4 separate regions of the Homo sapiens genome follow, and all the other regions are linked to region 1. The links are contacts of gene promoters, found by promoter capture Hi-C in blood cells and fetal thymus (Javierre and others, 2016). All regions are on one chromosome and are shown on one strand. The core of a region is centred on a gene start or on the middle of the fragment in contact, and the rest is flanking DNA. Distances in the headings are between cores, read along the strand shown. Region 1 holds the start of ACBD6 (acyl-CoA binding domain containing 6). Region 2 holds the start of RALGPS2 (Ral GEF with PH domain and SH3 binding motif 2). Region 3 has its middle 28 kb from the start of ZNF648. Region 4 overlaps FAM20B (FAM20B glycosaminoglycan xylosylkinase).

Region 1 (2,894 bases), core at 146-2,645:
TTTTGTTAATATAATTCATTAAAATAGAAACTGTTAATATAATTCCTTTCGAAGACTAGAGGAGAAAAGCAGATAATCTCCAAAGATGCCAAAAAAGCCGTTGATAATATTCAATTCTCACTTTAATAAAAATTCTAGAAACAAAGATATAAAAGTCCATGTTATATCTCCTTCAGTCTACTTGTCGGGTTCATCATCCATTATTACCCCACATGAAAGCTAACTTCTTTTTCCTTGCTCCTCCATTTGCTAGCTGTGTAGCCTTTGACAAGTTACTTAACCACTCTGTGCTGATTTCCTATGTGTAGTAAAATAAGAGTACCTACCTTATGTTGTAATGATCAAGTCCTCAATACATTATTCTTAATCACTTTTTAATTGCAAGAATTTGGTCATTAAACATCCCTTTGACTGGATTGCGAGCACCTTGACAGCAGGGACTAACAGTGGAACTTTCTGGAGACTTAAGGAATGTCTGTTGAATCCTGATGCAAGCTTTCTCACCTTCCTGTGTTCTCTCATTGCTTCCTCATCCTGTCCAGCCGTCCGTCCACCCGTCGCAAGCCTAACCCCAGTCAATAACCACTGTTTACAACACTTTCTTTGTACCCTTCTTATAGTGCTTATTACATTGTTTTGAATACTAAATGAATATATAGTGCGTCGTTGTGTTTAACATTTAGGACATAACCACTCATAATGTTACAGTTAAAAAAATAGTTTTGTGCATTCCTCTAGGGCCGAACTGTGCCGTACTTCTGGTTTCACTGTACAGTGTCTACAAAGCACAGTGTCAAAGACAGAGCTCGGGATGAGAACTGGGCTAAGGCGCGCCCCGAACTCCCCAAACCCTATTATTCAGGGCCCGGAGAGGTGCGGGCTCCGAAGGTGTGGAGAGCGAAACACGCAGAGCAGTGATTCCACTCATCAGTCACACAGTAAGACGGGACAGCCCCATCTCGCAGTTTTTCATTATTCAACACAGAGCCCAACGCGCACGCAACAGATCCGCGCGCAGGGCTGTTTGGAGGCGCTTGGGGCGCACAATCTGGGGCAGGCGGAACCTTAGTCCTCAGCCTCGCGTTTCCCGCGACTCCGCTCTCACCGCTACACTACCACACAAACGGCCTCCTTCCCCCACCCCCGGGGGCCCATCCCGGTGGCGGGCTCCGGAGCTCGGGACTGCTAATTTCAGCGAAACGATTAAAAGACGCCCCTACAGCTGACGGCACTTTCTCTCCTCCGGCAGGGAAGGACGTCCAGCGTAGCGTCGCCCGCGCTTCCCCGCCGGCGCAGAGCAGGCCTCACAGAATCGCACGCCGCTGGCACGCACGCCGCCCCGCCCCCACGGCCCAGCGCCAGCCGCGCCCCGCGCTCGCACGCATCCCGGCCTCACTGCCCCTCGACTCCTGTTCCGTTGGAGGGGCCTGAGGCGAGCCTGAGCGCGCTGTTGGCCGGAGGGAAGCCGGAGGAGACCGGGTCGACTGGGCAGAGCGGCAGAGGGTCGAGGAGCCTGCTCTGCACGCCCAGGGAGTAGAAGTGGGCAGGGAGCAGGGTCACGTGAGGGAGCGCGCCGCGACTGAGCTTGGGTCCGACTGGAGCTCAGGCTCGCGACCCAGACTGGTGGGCCAGGCCTCCAAGCCGGCCTTACACCCAATCCAAGGAGGACAGACCGGACACAGAGGGACGGAGCGAGCAAGGAGACATGGCTTCATCATTCCTGCCCGCGGGGGCCATCACCGGCGACAGCGGTGGAGAGCTGAGCTCAGGGGACGACTCCGGGGAGGTGGAGTTCCCCCATAGCCCTGAGATCGAGGAGACCAGTTGCCTGGCCGAGCTGTTTGAGAAGGCTGCCGCGCACCTGCAAGGCCTGATTCAGGTGGCCAGCAGGGAGCAGCTCTTGTACCTGTATGCCAGGTACAAACAGGTAAAGTAGCAGGGAGAGGGTGGATGGGGGAGAAAGACACGGAGCCTTCTTCCTCAACAACTGATAGCAAGCATGTATGGTTAATAGCTAGGTGTAATGAAGCTTGTGTATGTGTATTTTGTTTTGTTTTTTTTTTTTTGACCATCTGCTGGGGATGAGCATCATCCTGAACGTGGAAAAGATGTTTGCTTTCTTAGGAGTGATGTTTATTTAGCTGGACACTGGACATTGTTTTTGTGTTTTTTTCTCTGACTTATTCAGTGATCTTGCATTTTACCAGCCCAAGAACCTTTACAAAATGAGGATAAAATAAGATATATCATTCATTTACTCTTTCCCAGAGGGCCACATGGAAGTAAATACGGTAAAGTTAATAAAACTATATAGAGATCCAAAAAGATAATAGGATTGTAATAATGTGATGCAGGGCTGGGCGTGGTTGCTCACGGCTGTAATCCCAGCACTTTGGGAGGCCGAGGCGGGAGGATCACCTGAGGTCGGGAGTTGGAGACCAGCCTGACCAACATGGAGAAACCCCGTCTCTACTAAGTTAGCCGAGCGTGGTGGCGCATGCCTGTAATCCCAGCTACTCGGGAGGCTGAGGAGGCGGAGGTTGCGGTGAGCGAAGATTGTGCGCCATTGCACTCCAGCCTGGGCAACAAGAGCGAAGAAACTCCACCTCAAATAATAATAATAATAATAATGTGATGCAATGCAAAATGCAGTATTACAACTTTTATTGTGATTTTTATAAAATCCTAAATATCTTTGATTTATGTTTTCGTTGAGTATGTCTTCCTTTCTGTTTGATACAATCTAAAAATTTTAGAGCTATGAACACCAGAGGAAATAATGCCCTTCTTTTACAGTAAAGGAAACTGAAGGCCATAGAGAGTAGGCACCTTTCCTAGGGTCATACAAATACATCAGTCAGAACTGGATTGTAGCTCCTGACTCAGTCTAAGGC
Region 2 (2,894 bases), core at 254-2,753, 1.8 Mb after region 1:
TCTAATGGTGGACACAGAAAAATACCCAAGTCAACTCATGAACACTGGTAAGAAAAGGCTCTCTATAGCAACTAAAGTGTTGGGGAAAAAAAATCCAGGGAGCATAAACGATAAAGCTCAATTAACTGCTGCTTGTGTGATTCCACTTTATGGTCTTAAATACACAGTAGGCATTAGATATTTCTTTTGGGGTTTTTTTTTTTTAACAGAAATTTAGTATTTCAATTGCCCCTCCTCCACAGCTAACATCAGTGCCCTTTCTTCCTCCTCCCTTACCCCTCCCAACTCAAACAAATTAACATTTGTACTAGGTACCTCCTATCAGCTCGCAGCTTCTTCCCAAACACGCCCACGTACACTGAAACTGGCTTGCGTCTACACAACACACAGCTACAGGAAAAGAGCTTCGAGGGGGGAGCTGGGGCGGGGGGTTAATAATTCGCTCCGCACAGGTTTACGGCTATTTTCCAGAAACTAGTTCCTCGCTCGTGGCTCGCGTTTCTTCCAAATCACCTCAAAAGCACGGTGTTTATGAGCCTACCTAATCCGATACTGCAATGGAATTCCGGATATTTGCAGACAGATCTCCCGGCTTTGCAAGTGTTTGATGAGATACGTTCGGAATCTCCTTTTTTTTCTAGAGCCCGGTTCCAGGCCGTAGAGCAAGCCGACCTGGGGCTGCGGCCCCTGCCCCACACCCGGCCCGCGCGCCCGGCCCGAGGCCAGCACAGGACGCAGCCCCTCCGGGGCCGGGGCTGGCGGGGGCCGCTCGGGCTGCGGGCCGCTCTGCAACAGGTCACCCTGACCGCGACTCCGCGGGTTCGCGGGCGGCCAACTCTGCGGCCAGGCTTCTGGGCGCAGCCGCCAGGGCCAGGGGAGGGGGTGTGGCCCGGCTTCTGCTGGTCCTGGCTCCGAGGTCCGGGATCGGGCTCACCTGAAGGAAGACTGAGGCGCCGCTGGGCGCCAGAACAGAGCGGGCGGAGGCTGGGGGCTTCCGCCACCCAAGAGGGAGAGCGAGGCGGGTTCAAGGGGTCGCAGCGCCCCCGGCTTCAGGACGGCGCCCCCGAGCGGGGACCCCACGGCCGCTCCGACTCTGAGAACCCGCGGCCGAGGGAGGCGCGCCGCCCAGCGCCCTTCTCCCTCAGCCTCAGCCCCAGCTCCGCAGCCCCCTCCCTGCGCGCAGGGCGAGCAGCCCCGGGGCCCGCGGCCGGGAGAGCCACACTCCGCAGCGCCGCCGCCGCCATTCCCCGCGCCGCCCGGGGGGCGCCGCGTACCCACCCTCCCTCCCTCCCTCCCCCGCACCGCCCCGCGGCCTGAGCCCACCGACCTGTGCAGCCGCGGCCGTCGCCTCAGAGGACGGAAAGACGATGCCGGCCTCACGCTTCACCGCCACGGCCGCCGCCGCCTAGAGTAGCACTCGTCGACCCGAACAGTCACCGTCTCTCATTCAGCGCCCGCAGCAGCCGCCGCCGCCGCCGCCGCTGCCGCTCGGGGGAGGAGAGTGAGCTGGAACCACCCCGTCCGCGCCAGGGGTGGGGGACGAGAGCGGACCTGGCGGGGGCGCGCGCCAAGCGGGCGGGGCGGAGCCGCGCGCGCGCGCGCACCAACGGAGCGCGCTCGCGGGGGCTCTGAGAGCTGCAGCCGTCAGGGTCTTAACCTCGCGCTTCCCGCCCGCAGCTTTTCGGCCCCGCGGAGCCCAACTGCCGCCGGTGATCGGTGCCCGCAGCGCGCGCAGCCATCCGCAACCCCACCGCCCGGCGCCTGCTGAAAGGAGGGGCTCCCACCGGCCAAACAACGGGGGGGGGAAGGGGTAGGAGGATGGACAGGTGGGGCGTCCGCCACCGCCTGGCCACCCGCTCCCGGAACGCGGCCCTCTGTGAAATCCGCCGTGATGTCTGTGGCCTTCAGCGCCGGGCTCTTCACCTTTAAGGCCAGAGAACAAAGTCTGGAAGCACTTGGCCCCAAGATCAAATATCCAGCCCACGCCAGCGGTGTTTTTAGAAGTCACTGAGGACAAATGAGGGGGCTCCCAATGTGGAGAGTCACCCCACTGTCTTAGATAAGGTCATAAATTATGGTGATCAACATCCTCACACATTAAGATTCGGGAAGTGTTAGAAGTAGGCCTTTGTAAGATGTTACGCAGGGTACTACCCTTGACTTAAGGAGCAAATGACAGAAATTGGGCGGAAAGGTGTTGTTTCAGAGTCTACTAAATGGGTGGCCTACTTAAAGCTAGCACCATTTGATGCAGTGTGACTGTTAACGGAAGGTTTTAAGTGAGCCGCCTTTGTATCTGCTGTCATTAGACCATTTGGAAATGGATAATTATTTGATGATCTGCAGTTCTTTCTCTAGGCAATGTGCAGTAGAATGTGGAAAGAATACTATGTACCAGCATTAAGTGTAAAACATGAAAGGACCAATAATTCACTATTCCCATTTGGTTTCTTTCTTCCCTTTAATAACCGCTAAACAGAACTGATTAATCTTGAACGTTGAAGATTGCTAATTATTTCCTCCTTTGATTGCCTTCTGTCATAGCCCTTTTACTCTAGTTGGGGACGCTAGAATGCCCTTCAACCTCCTTCTCTCAAATAGGGTTACTTTAAAGCACCCCAACGCAAAGTTAAGTCAAAAAGAAAAACAGCGAGGATAGGCAACAAAGTTCGTAGTGTTTCATTTTTATTCCATTTTACTTTCAAAGAAAGTCTTGAATCATGACGAAATCACTAGAAGAAGTAGAGCAATCAAAAGAAGAAAAAAAGCGTTCCCCCCCACCCAATATTTCAAATGACAAGAGTCCAAAAAAGAAAAGAAAAAGGAAGATGATTGGTAAAAAGGAGGGAAGTGCATTATGTATACAGAAAGTTTTCGCATAGATGTTAGTTGCT
Region 3 (2,894 bases), core at 159-2,658, 1.5 Mb before region 1:
CAACTGCAGCAAACTGTTATTAATTGGTGAATCTAGGTGGAGGTTATACAGGATGTCATTGTATTATTCTAACAACTTTTCTGCTAGTTTGAAATTTTTTCAAAATAAAATGTTAAAAGTACATATTTACATCAAGTGTTGGTAAGGATGTGGAGAAATGGAAATTTTCATACTCTGATAAAAGGAATGCAAATTATTGGTACAGTTCTTGGAGAGTAATATAATGATGTTTAATATTACATTGATATAATACTATTAATACAGTATGATGATGATGATATGATAGTAGTATCAGTAATCATCAATATATCTATACCTTATACCTTAGCAATTCAAATGGGATATGGGAAGAAAATAGTAGAATTTTGTACTTATCTTTTAAGAAAAAATTTACATTTGATAATGGGTATTACATGTTAATACAATAGGACATTTATATAATTTATAAATAGAGACATATTGAGGATAAGCAGTTAAGCTTTTTTATTGATGAGGCAACACAATCAGCATAGCAGGAGACCACTCCCCCTTAAGAAATTTAAGTATACATGAGGAGATTATAAATATATGTAAGAATATTAATTGCAGCATAATTTGTAATGGCAAAACTTTGGAAACATTTTAAATATTCATCAGTAAAAGAATACATAAATCAATTGTGTTTTATTAATATAATGGGATGTTAAATAGCAGTTAAGATGAATGAAGCGAAGCTGTAAGTACAGGTTTAGAAAATGTTGAGTGAAAAAACCAAGTCACAGAACCATAAGTCTATTCATATAAATTGTCTTATTCATTTGGCTGTTCCAACAAAGTACCATAAACTGGATGGCTTATAAACAACAGAAATTTATTTCTCACAATTCTGAAGGCTTGGAAGTCTAAGATCAGGGCACCAGCAGAGTCAGGGTCTGGTGAAGGTCCTCTTCCAGGTTGCAGACTGCTGCTGACTTCTAATTGGATCATGACACGGCAGAAGGAGAGCTAGCAGTTCTTGGACCTCTTCTTATAAAAGGCACTAATTTCAATCATGAGGCTCCACCCTTATGACCTGATCACCTCCCACAGGCCCCACCTTCAAATATTATCCCACCGGGATTAGGATTTCAACATATGCATTTTAGGGTGGACACTTTCAGTCCATTGCATAAATTTGGGCACAGAGAAAGACATGAATAGAAGGATAACAACGTGGAGAGACATAGGGAGAAGATGGCCATTAACAAAGCCAAGGGGGAGAGGCCTGGAACAGACTCCCCCTCACAGCCCTTAAAAGGAACCAACTTTTAAGACACCTTGATATCAGACTTCTAGCCTCCAGAACTGAGAGGTGAAATTTTTATTAAGTCATCCAGCTTATAGTACTTTATTATTACAGCCCTAGCAAACTAATACAACATTTATAACTTGGCAATTTTGTTATTTTTTTAAAAAGTATGTTTTCAACCAGAGGGAAAAAACCCTTCTTCCCTCAAAAATGTAAAATGAGGAACTAGAAGGGGTGAAGCTGATCTGCTATTTAATAGAATATCTTTATATATTTTAATAGTAAAGTTAAAATTTTGATCTGTTATCAAAGAGGTTTTTGTTTAATAAACCTGGTGGGTCAGTCTCATGGAGCAAGGGAAAACAATTCCCATGTGCTCAGAAGAGCATTTTGTAATTTCCTAATTAGGGATAAGAAAGACAATTCCCAAGTTTCCTTCAGAAAAGACTGGGGCAATAAACATAATTAACTCTAAGAGGTTTAATAATAAATCACCAAATCTCATGAGCATAATAAATACAACTAGGGAAGTATTTTAATATAGTCTCAATATAATAATCACAAATTCAACTTCAGAACAGTGTGAATTACAAATATAATGTGGATATTTTCTTGGCATAGATCTCAGGCCATGCTATTTTTAAGGTCATTTGTTATTGGAAGCAGAAGGGGCATGATAATATGTAACCTTAGTCCTGCTGACAGAATTTCAGCAAGAGTAACAATGTCCTCCTGCAAACTCTTGATGATACCTTGCTAGAGAAAAAATATGAAGCTGAATAAAGCACAGAATATGAATATGGCCCATGAGAAAACTTCTTTAAGACCACCTGTAGAATTCTGCAATCACATACGCAGGTTTTCTTGTTAGCAACATGCTGGTCTCTCTAATTCCCAATAGCATCTTGCTGTGATATTGTGAGCCTTTAGCATTTTGAATCTCTTGTCCTCACATGTTCAGAACAGTGCCCGGGATATGCCTTTGATAGGTGTCAACTGATGAATAAGGTGAGACAAACAGTTTGATATGAATCCATATTTATTGGATCTCATAAACCCAAAGCAAGCTTACTGACAAGTACAGCAGATGGGGTCAGGGTGGGGGCAGGAGGGTTGCTTTGTTGCCCAGGCTGGAGTGCAGTGGTGTGATCACAGCTCACTGCAGCCTCAAACTCCTGGGCTCAAGCAATCCTCCCTAGTAAGTCTATCGAGTTGCTGGGATTACAGGCATCAGCCACCATGCCCAACCAATCAGGTGATTCCTCTCCTCTGCTTCTGTGTTGGGCCTATAAAAGTCCATTGCTCACACTGTGCAGCACTCTGAACTTTTGGTTCTCAGTGATGCATGATTCCTGAGTCATTCTTTGCTCAAATAAACTGGTAAATTTAATTTGTCTAAAGTTTTTCTTTTAACACATGTAAAGTATTATTACAGAAAAAAGTGTAACTATTAAAACAGTGTTTTCAAGGACCAAAAGCACAGAAGTCAATTAGTTTAGGCAACAACAATAAAATACTTTAGACAACTTTTTTTTTTTTTTTTTTTTTGAGACGGAGTTTCATTCTGTCACCTAGGCTGGAGTGCAGTGGCGCGATCTCGGCTCACTGCAACCTCCGCCTCCTGGGT
Region 4 (2,894 bases), core at 226-2,725, 1.5 Mb after region 1:
ATATAATACCTTACTCCCCAACATTAGGTAAATGAGGCATTGCTATGTATATAAAGCAGAAAGTTAACATTTGAGAGCATGGAATGATAGACTTCACTGCCTCCCTCTGTACTTGGTTCTGTCCTCTTTACACATTCATAATTTCATATTCCTTGACCTGCCTTTATAACGTGCCCAAGTTAGCACCCTCTTCTCTAAAGGGGTTATCTTGCCAGAAAGTACAGACCTTAAACACACACCAAAGCTCAAGGTCTCTTCTGCATCAGCTTACATTTTTCTCTTATCTCACACTGGGATGACAGACGCACCCATCTGTCATGTAGATTCTTTACATCCCAAGCTAGGCATTTCTTCTTTTGTTTTTGGTAAGAAAGACCAAATCAGAAGTGAGATCTTTGCATTATTTTCTCTTCTAGGCAGCTCGAGCAGTCATGCTGACATTGTAAGTTAGTCAGAAGCTGGTTTCAATAGCAAAGTAAGCTTCTGTTCTGCAGCCCAGGCCTATGTTAAAGAATTCATTAGTACTTGGGGTTACAGAGACAGCTGAAGGAAAACAGGAAGATATATGTAGGTGTAGAAGAAGGAACTGCTGGAGAAGTACTCTTAAAAAGGGATAACTCCCCTCTTCCACCGTCAAAATAAGGGACAAGGGCAGTCAGGTCAATGCTATTGACATGGCCATTGCCAAGAGCTCTAAGTTCTTCTATTAATGCAAAAACACTGGCTATCAATCCAACTGCCCAATTAGCCTAGCCAGAACAGACTGTAGGAGCAAGGTTGTGAAGCTGCACTTGACTGGAACCTGCACAGGCTACTGCCAGGCTCCAGGTGGTTTAGAACACCATATAATCACAGAAGCAAATAACACACCTCTACAGAATATTTTGAACAGTAATCCGAAACACATTTTCTACGCTTTTTTTTTCTTTTGACAAAAAGAGGAACTAAATAATTTAGTATATACATTAGAATATTTCCCCTTCCCTCATACTGTTTTCCATTTATTCATTCAACTGACGAATATTTATTGTGCACCTTCTACATACAGGCACTGTCAGGTGCAGAGAGAAAAATACACAGATACACAGATTACTGTAACAATTACAACAAACTGTAGGGCCTCATTGTAACTGTGTTCCCCATCCCAATCCACAAAACCACCTGGCACTTAGTCCCAGAAGGACTAAGAGTCAGATTCAGAAGACAGTCTCCTTCTGTTGTTGTTGTTGTTTGTTTGTTTGTTTTTTGAGACGGAGTCTCACTGTCAGCAGTCTGGAGTGCAGTGGTGCAATCTCAGCTCACTGCAACCTCTGCCTCCTGGGTTCAAGCGATTCTCCTGCCTCAGCCTCCTGAGTAGCTGGGACTACAGGCGTGCACCACCATGCACAGCTAATTTTTGTATTTTTAGTAGAGACGGGGTTTCACCATGTTGGCCAGGATGGTCTCAATCTCTTGACCTCGTGATCCGCCTGCCTCGGCCTCCCAAAGTGCTGGGATTACAGGCATAAGCCACCGCGCCCGACCAACTGTCTTTTTATGTATTCTTACAGAATACAAAGAACGCCCTCCTGCTTCTGTTATGAGATTGTGGCAATCACCAAAAGACAACCTCTGTGGTTAGCTATTTTAAAAAGTTATCAATTCAACAGCTGAAGTATCTGGCTTTAGGGTTTTACACTAATGAAATGATTTTAGGGTTTTACACCAATGAAATGATAGACACACAAAGTGTGGGAAGCTGAAGTCTGCCCTAAAACTGAAGGAACAGAAAGTTTCATTTAGGAATTTAAAATTCAGAAGAGATAAGAAGCAGAAACTTTAAGGCTGTGTGAAAGGGCTGGAATCTACAAATGGAAATCAAGGGAATGAACTAAAAGTCAAGGAATTATCAATTTAACATAAAATACTTCCATGATATAAAAGATTATAAAAATAAAGATGATAGAAGCAGTGATGTGTTTTTTCTCTAATCTTAAGAACCAAAAAGAAAAGCAGTGTATGTGTTTTCTAGTTTCCATTCATTCACCAAAACATAGCTACTGTCCTACCAGTTCTAGAGAAACGAATAGAGCATACCAATGTCACATTTTCACCACACAGAAAAGAAACGCTGTGAACTCCAAGATGTCTTGATCATCTTTTACCTGTATCCATATTTATCACTGCACTTTATCATGAGTGAGGCTGAGAGTCTGAATTATACTTGTGTGTGCCTTTGTATTCTCCTTTGATAAGTAATTTCAAATGGGAAAGGGACTCCTGCTGACTGATTCCATTGTACGGTTCGAGAGGCCAAAGTCCAACATCTTTGCAAACTTTAGAAAAGTTATTAATAGAATACATTGATTTTAAATCTCCCTGAGATTGGCTATGAGTCTGGGCAAATAATTTAGCATCTTTACCATTTGTACCTCAGTTTCTCAGACAGTCGTGATAACGAATCATATTTGAGGAAGTGCTCTAAGCTTAGCTCAAAGATCCTGCATAAACTCAAGGAATGTTTGTAATACATAAGAACACTGAGATCTCTAACCAGATTTTTAGAAATCAACGCCAGTGAAATTTTTGCAAGAATTTACAACGCAAAAAACATAGGCGTGGCTAATAAATGGCAATAGTAATTTGTACCAGATTATAGATTTATAAAGTCCTACAGTTTAAAGGCTAAAGGCTAAAAAAAACCCCACATTCCTACTTCCCTTCCAAGTGAGAAATCAAACCTCCAGAGGGAAGCTGGCTGGGTGGGGAAGATGCTGATATCTGGCACTAGACCCAAGTCGCAATAGCAAGCAACTCTCATTTTCCCAAATTAGAAACTCCTTATCCATCCCAATGATGGTATGGTCTTTAAAAGGACTAATAATTCCATTAAGACTAACCAAGCCCTGTTACCC

The links. The method cuts DNA at HindIII sites, captures the fragments that hold promoters and counts their contacts. A CHiCAGO score of 5 or more calls a contact.
Region 2: a contact is called between the fragment with the promoter of RALGPS2 here and the fragment with the promoter of ACBD6 in region 1, in 1 of 17 cell types (non-activated CD4 T cells). The highest score is 6.8, in non-activated CD4 T cells.
Region 3: a fragment that was not itself captured here is called in contact with the fragment with the promoter of ACBD6 in region 1 in 8 of 17 cell types (naive CD8 T cells, total CD8 T cells, total CD4 T cells and 5 more); the score reaches 10.4 in naive CD8 T cells.
Region 4: a contact is called between a fragment that was not itself captured here and the fragment with the promoter of ACBD6 in region 1, in 2 of 17 cell types (total CD8 T cells and naive CD8 T cells). The highest score is 6.3, in total CD8 T cells.

What each region holds. Positions count from the first base shown.
Region 1 is chr1:180,501,078-180,503,971 of GRCh38, reverse strand. ACBD6 (acyl-CoA binding domain containing 6) reads left to right here and starts at 1,395. Exons shown (of 8, transcript NM_032360.4): 1 at 1,395-1,927. The coding sequence starts at 1,706. RefSeq lists a silencer at 1,328-1,427 and enhancers at 1,638-1,827, 1,349-1,849, 1,957-2,472, 2,473-2,894. The HindIII fragment of the contact is 1,534 bases long and covers 498-2,031 here.
Region 2 is chr1:178,723,853-178,726,746 of GRCh38, reverse strand. It overlaps RALGPS2 (Ral GEF with PH domain and SH3 binding motif 2), which reads right to left and starts at 1,503. Exons shown (of 20, transcript NM_152663.5): 1 at 1,328-1,503. RALGPS2-AS1 (RALGPS2 antisense RNA 1) reads left to right here and starts at 463. Exons shown (of 1, transcript NR_187252.1): 1 at 463-2,894. RefSeq lists silencers at 694-923, 1,124-1,243, 1,504-1,673, 1,575-1,729 and an enhancer at 564-1,153. The HindIII fragment of the contact is 4,509 bases long and covers 1-2,894 here.
Region 3 is chr1:182,032,114-182,035,007 of GRCh38, reverse strand. No RefSeq gene overlaps it. Among named protein-coding and RNA genes, the nearest start is that of ZNF648, 28 kb to the left of the region's middle. The HindIII fragment of the contact is 1,856 bases long and covers 481-2,336 here.
Region 4 is chr1:179,026,932-179,029,825 of GRCh38, reverse strand. All of the region lies in intron 1 of FAM20B (FAM20B glycosaminoglycan xylosylkinase), which reads right to left. Among named protein-coding and RNA genes, the nearest start is that of FAM20B, 2.5 kb to the right of the region's middle. RefSeq lists a silencer at 158-452 and an enhancer at 221-1,096. The HindIII fragment of the contact is 1,985 bases long and covers 483-2,467 here.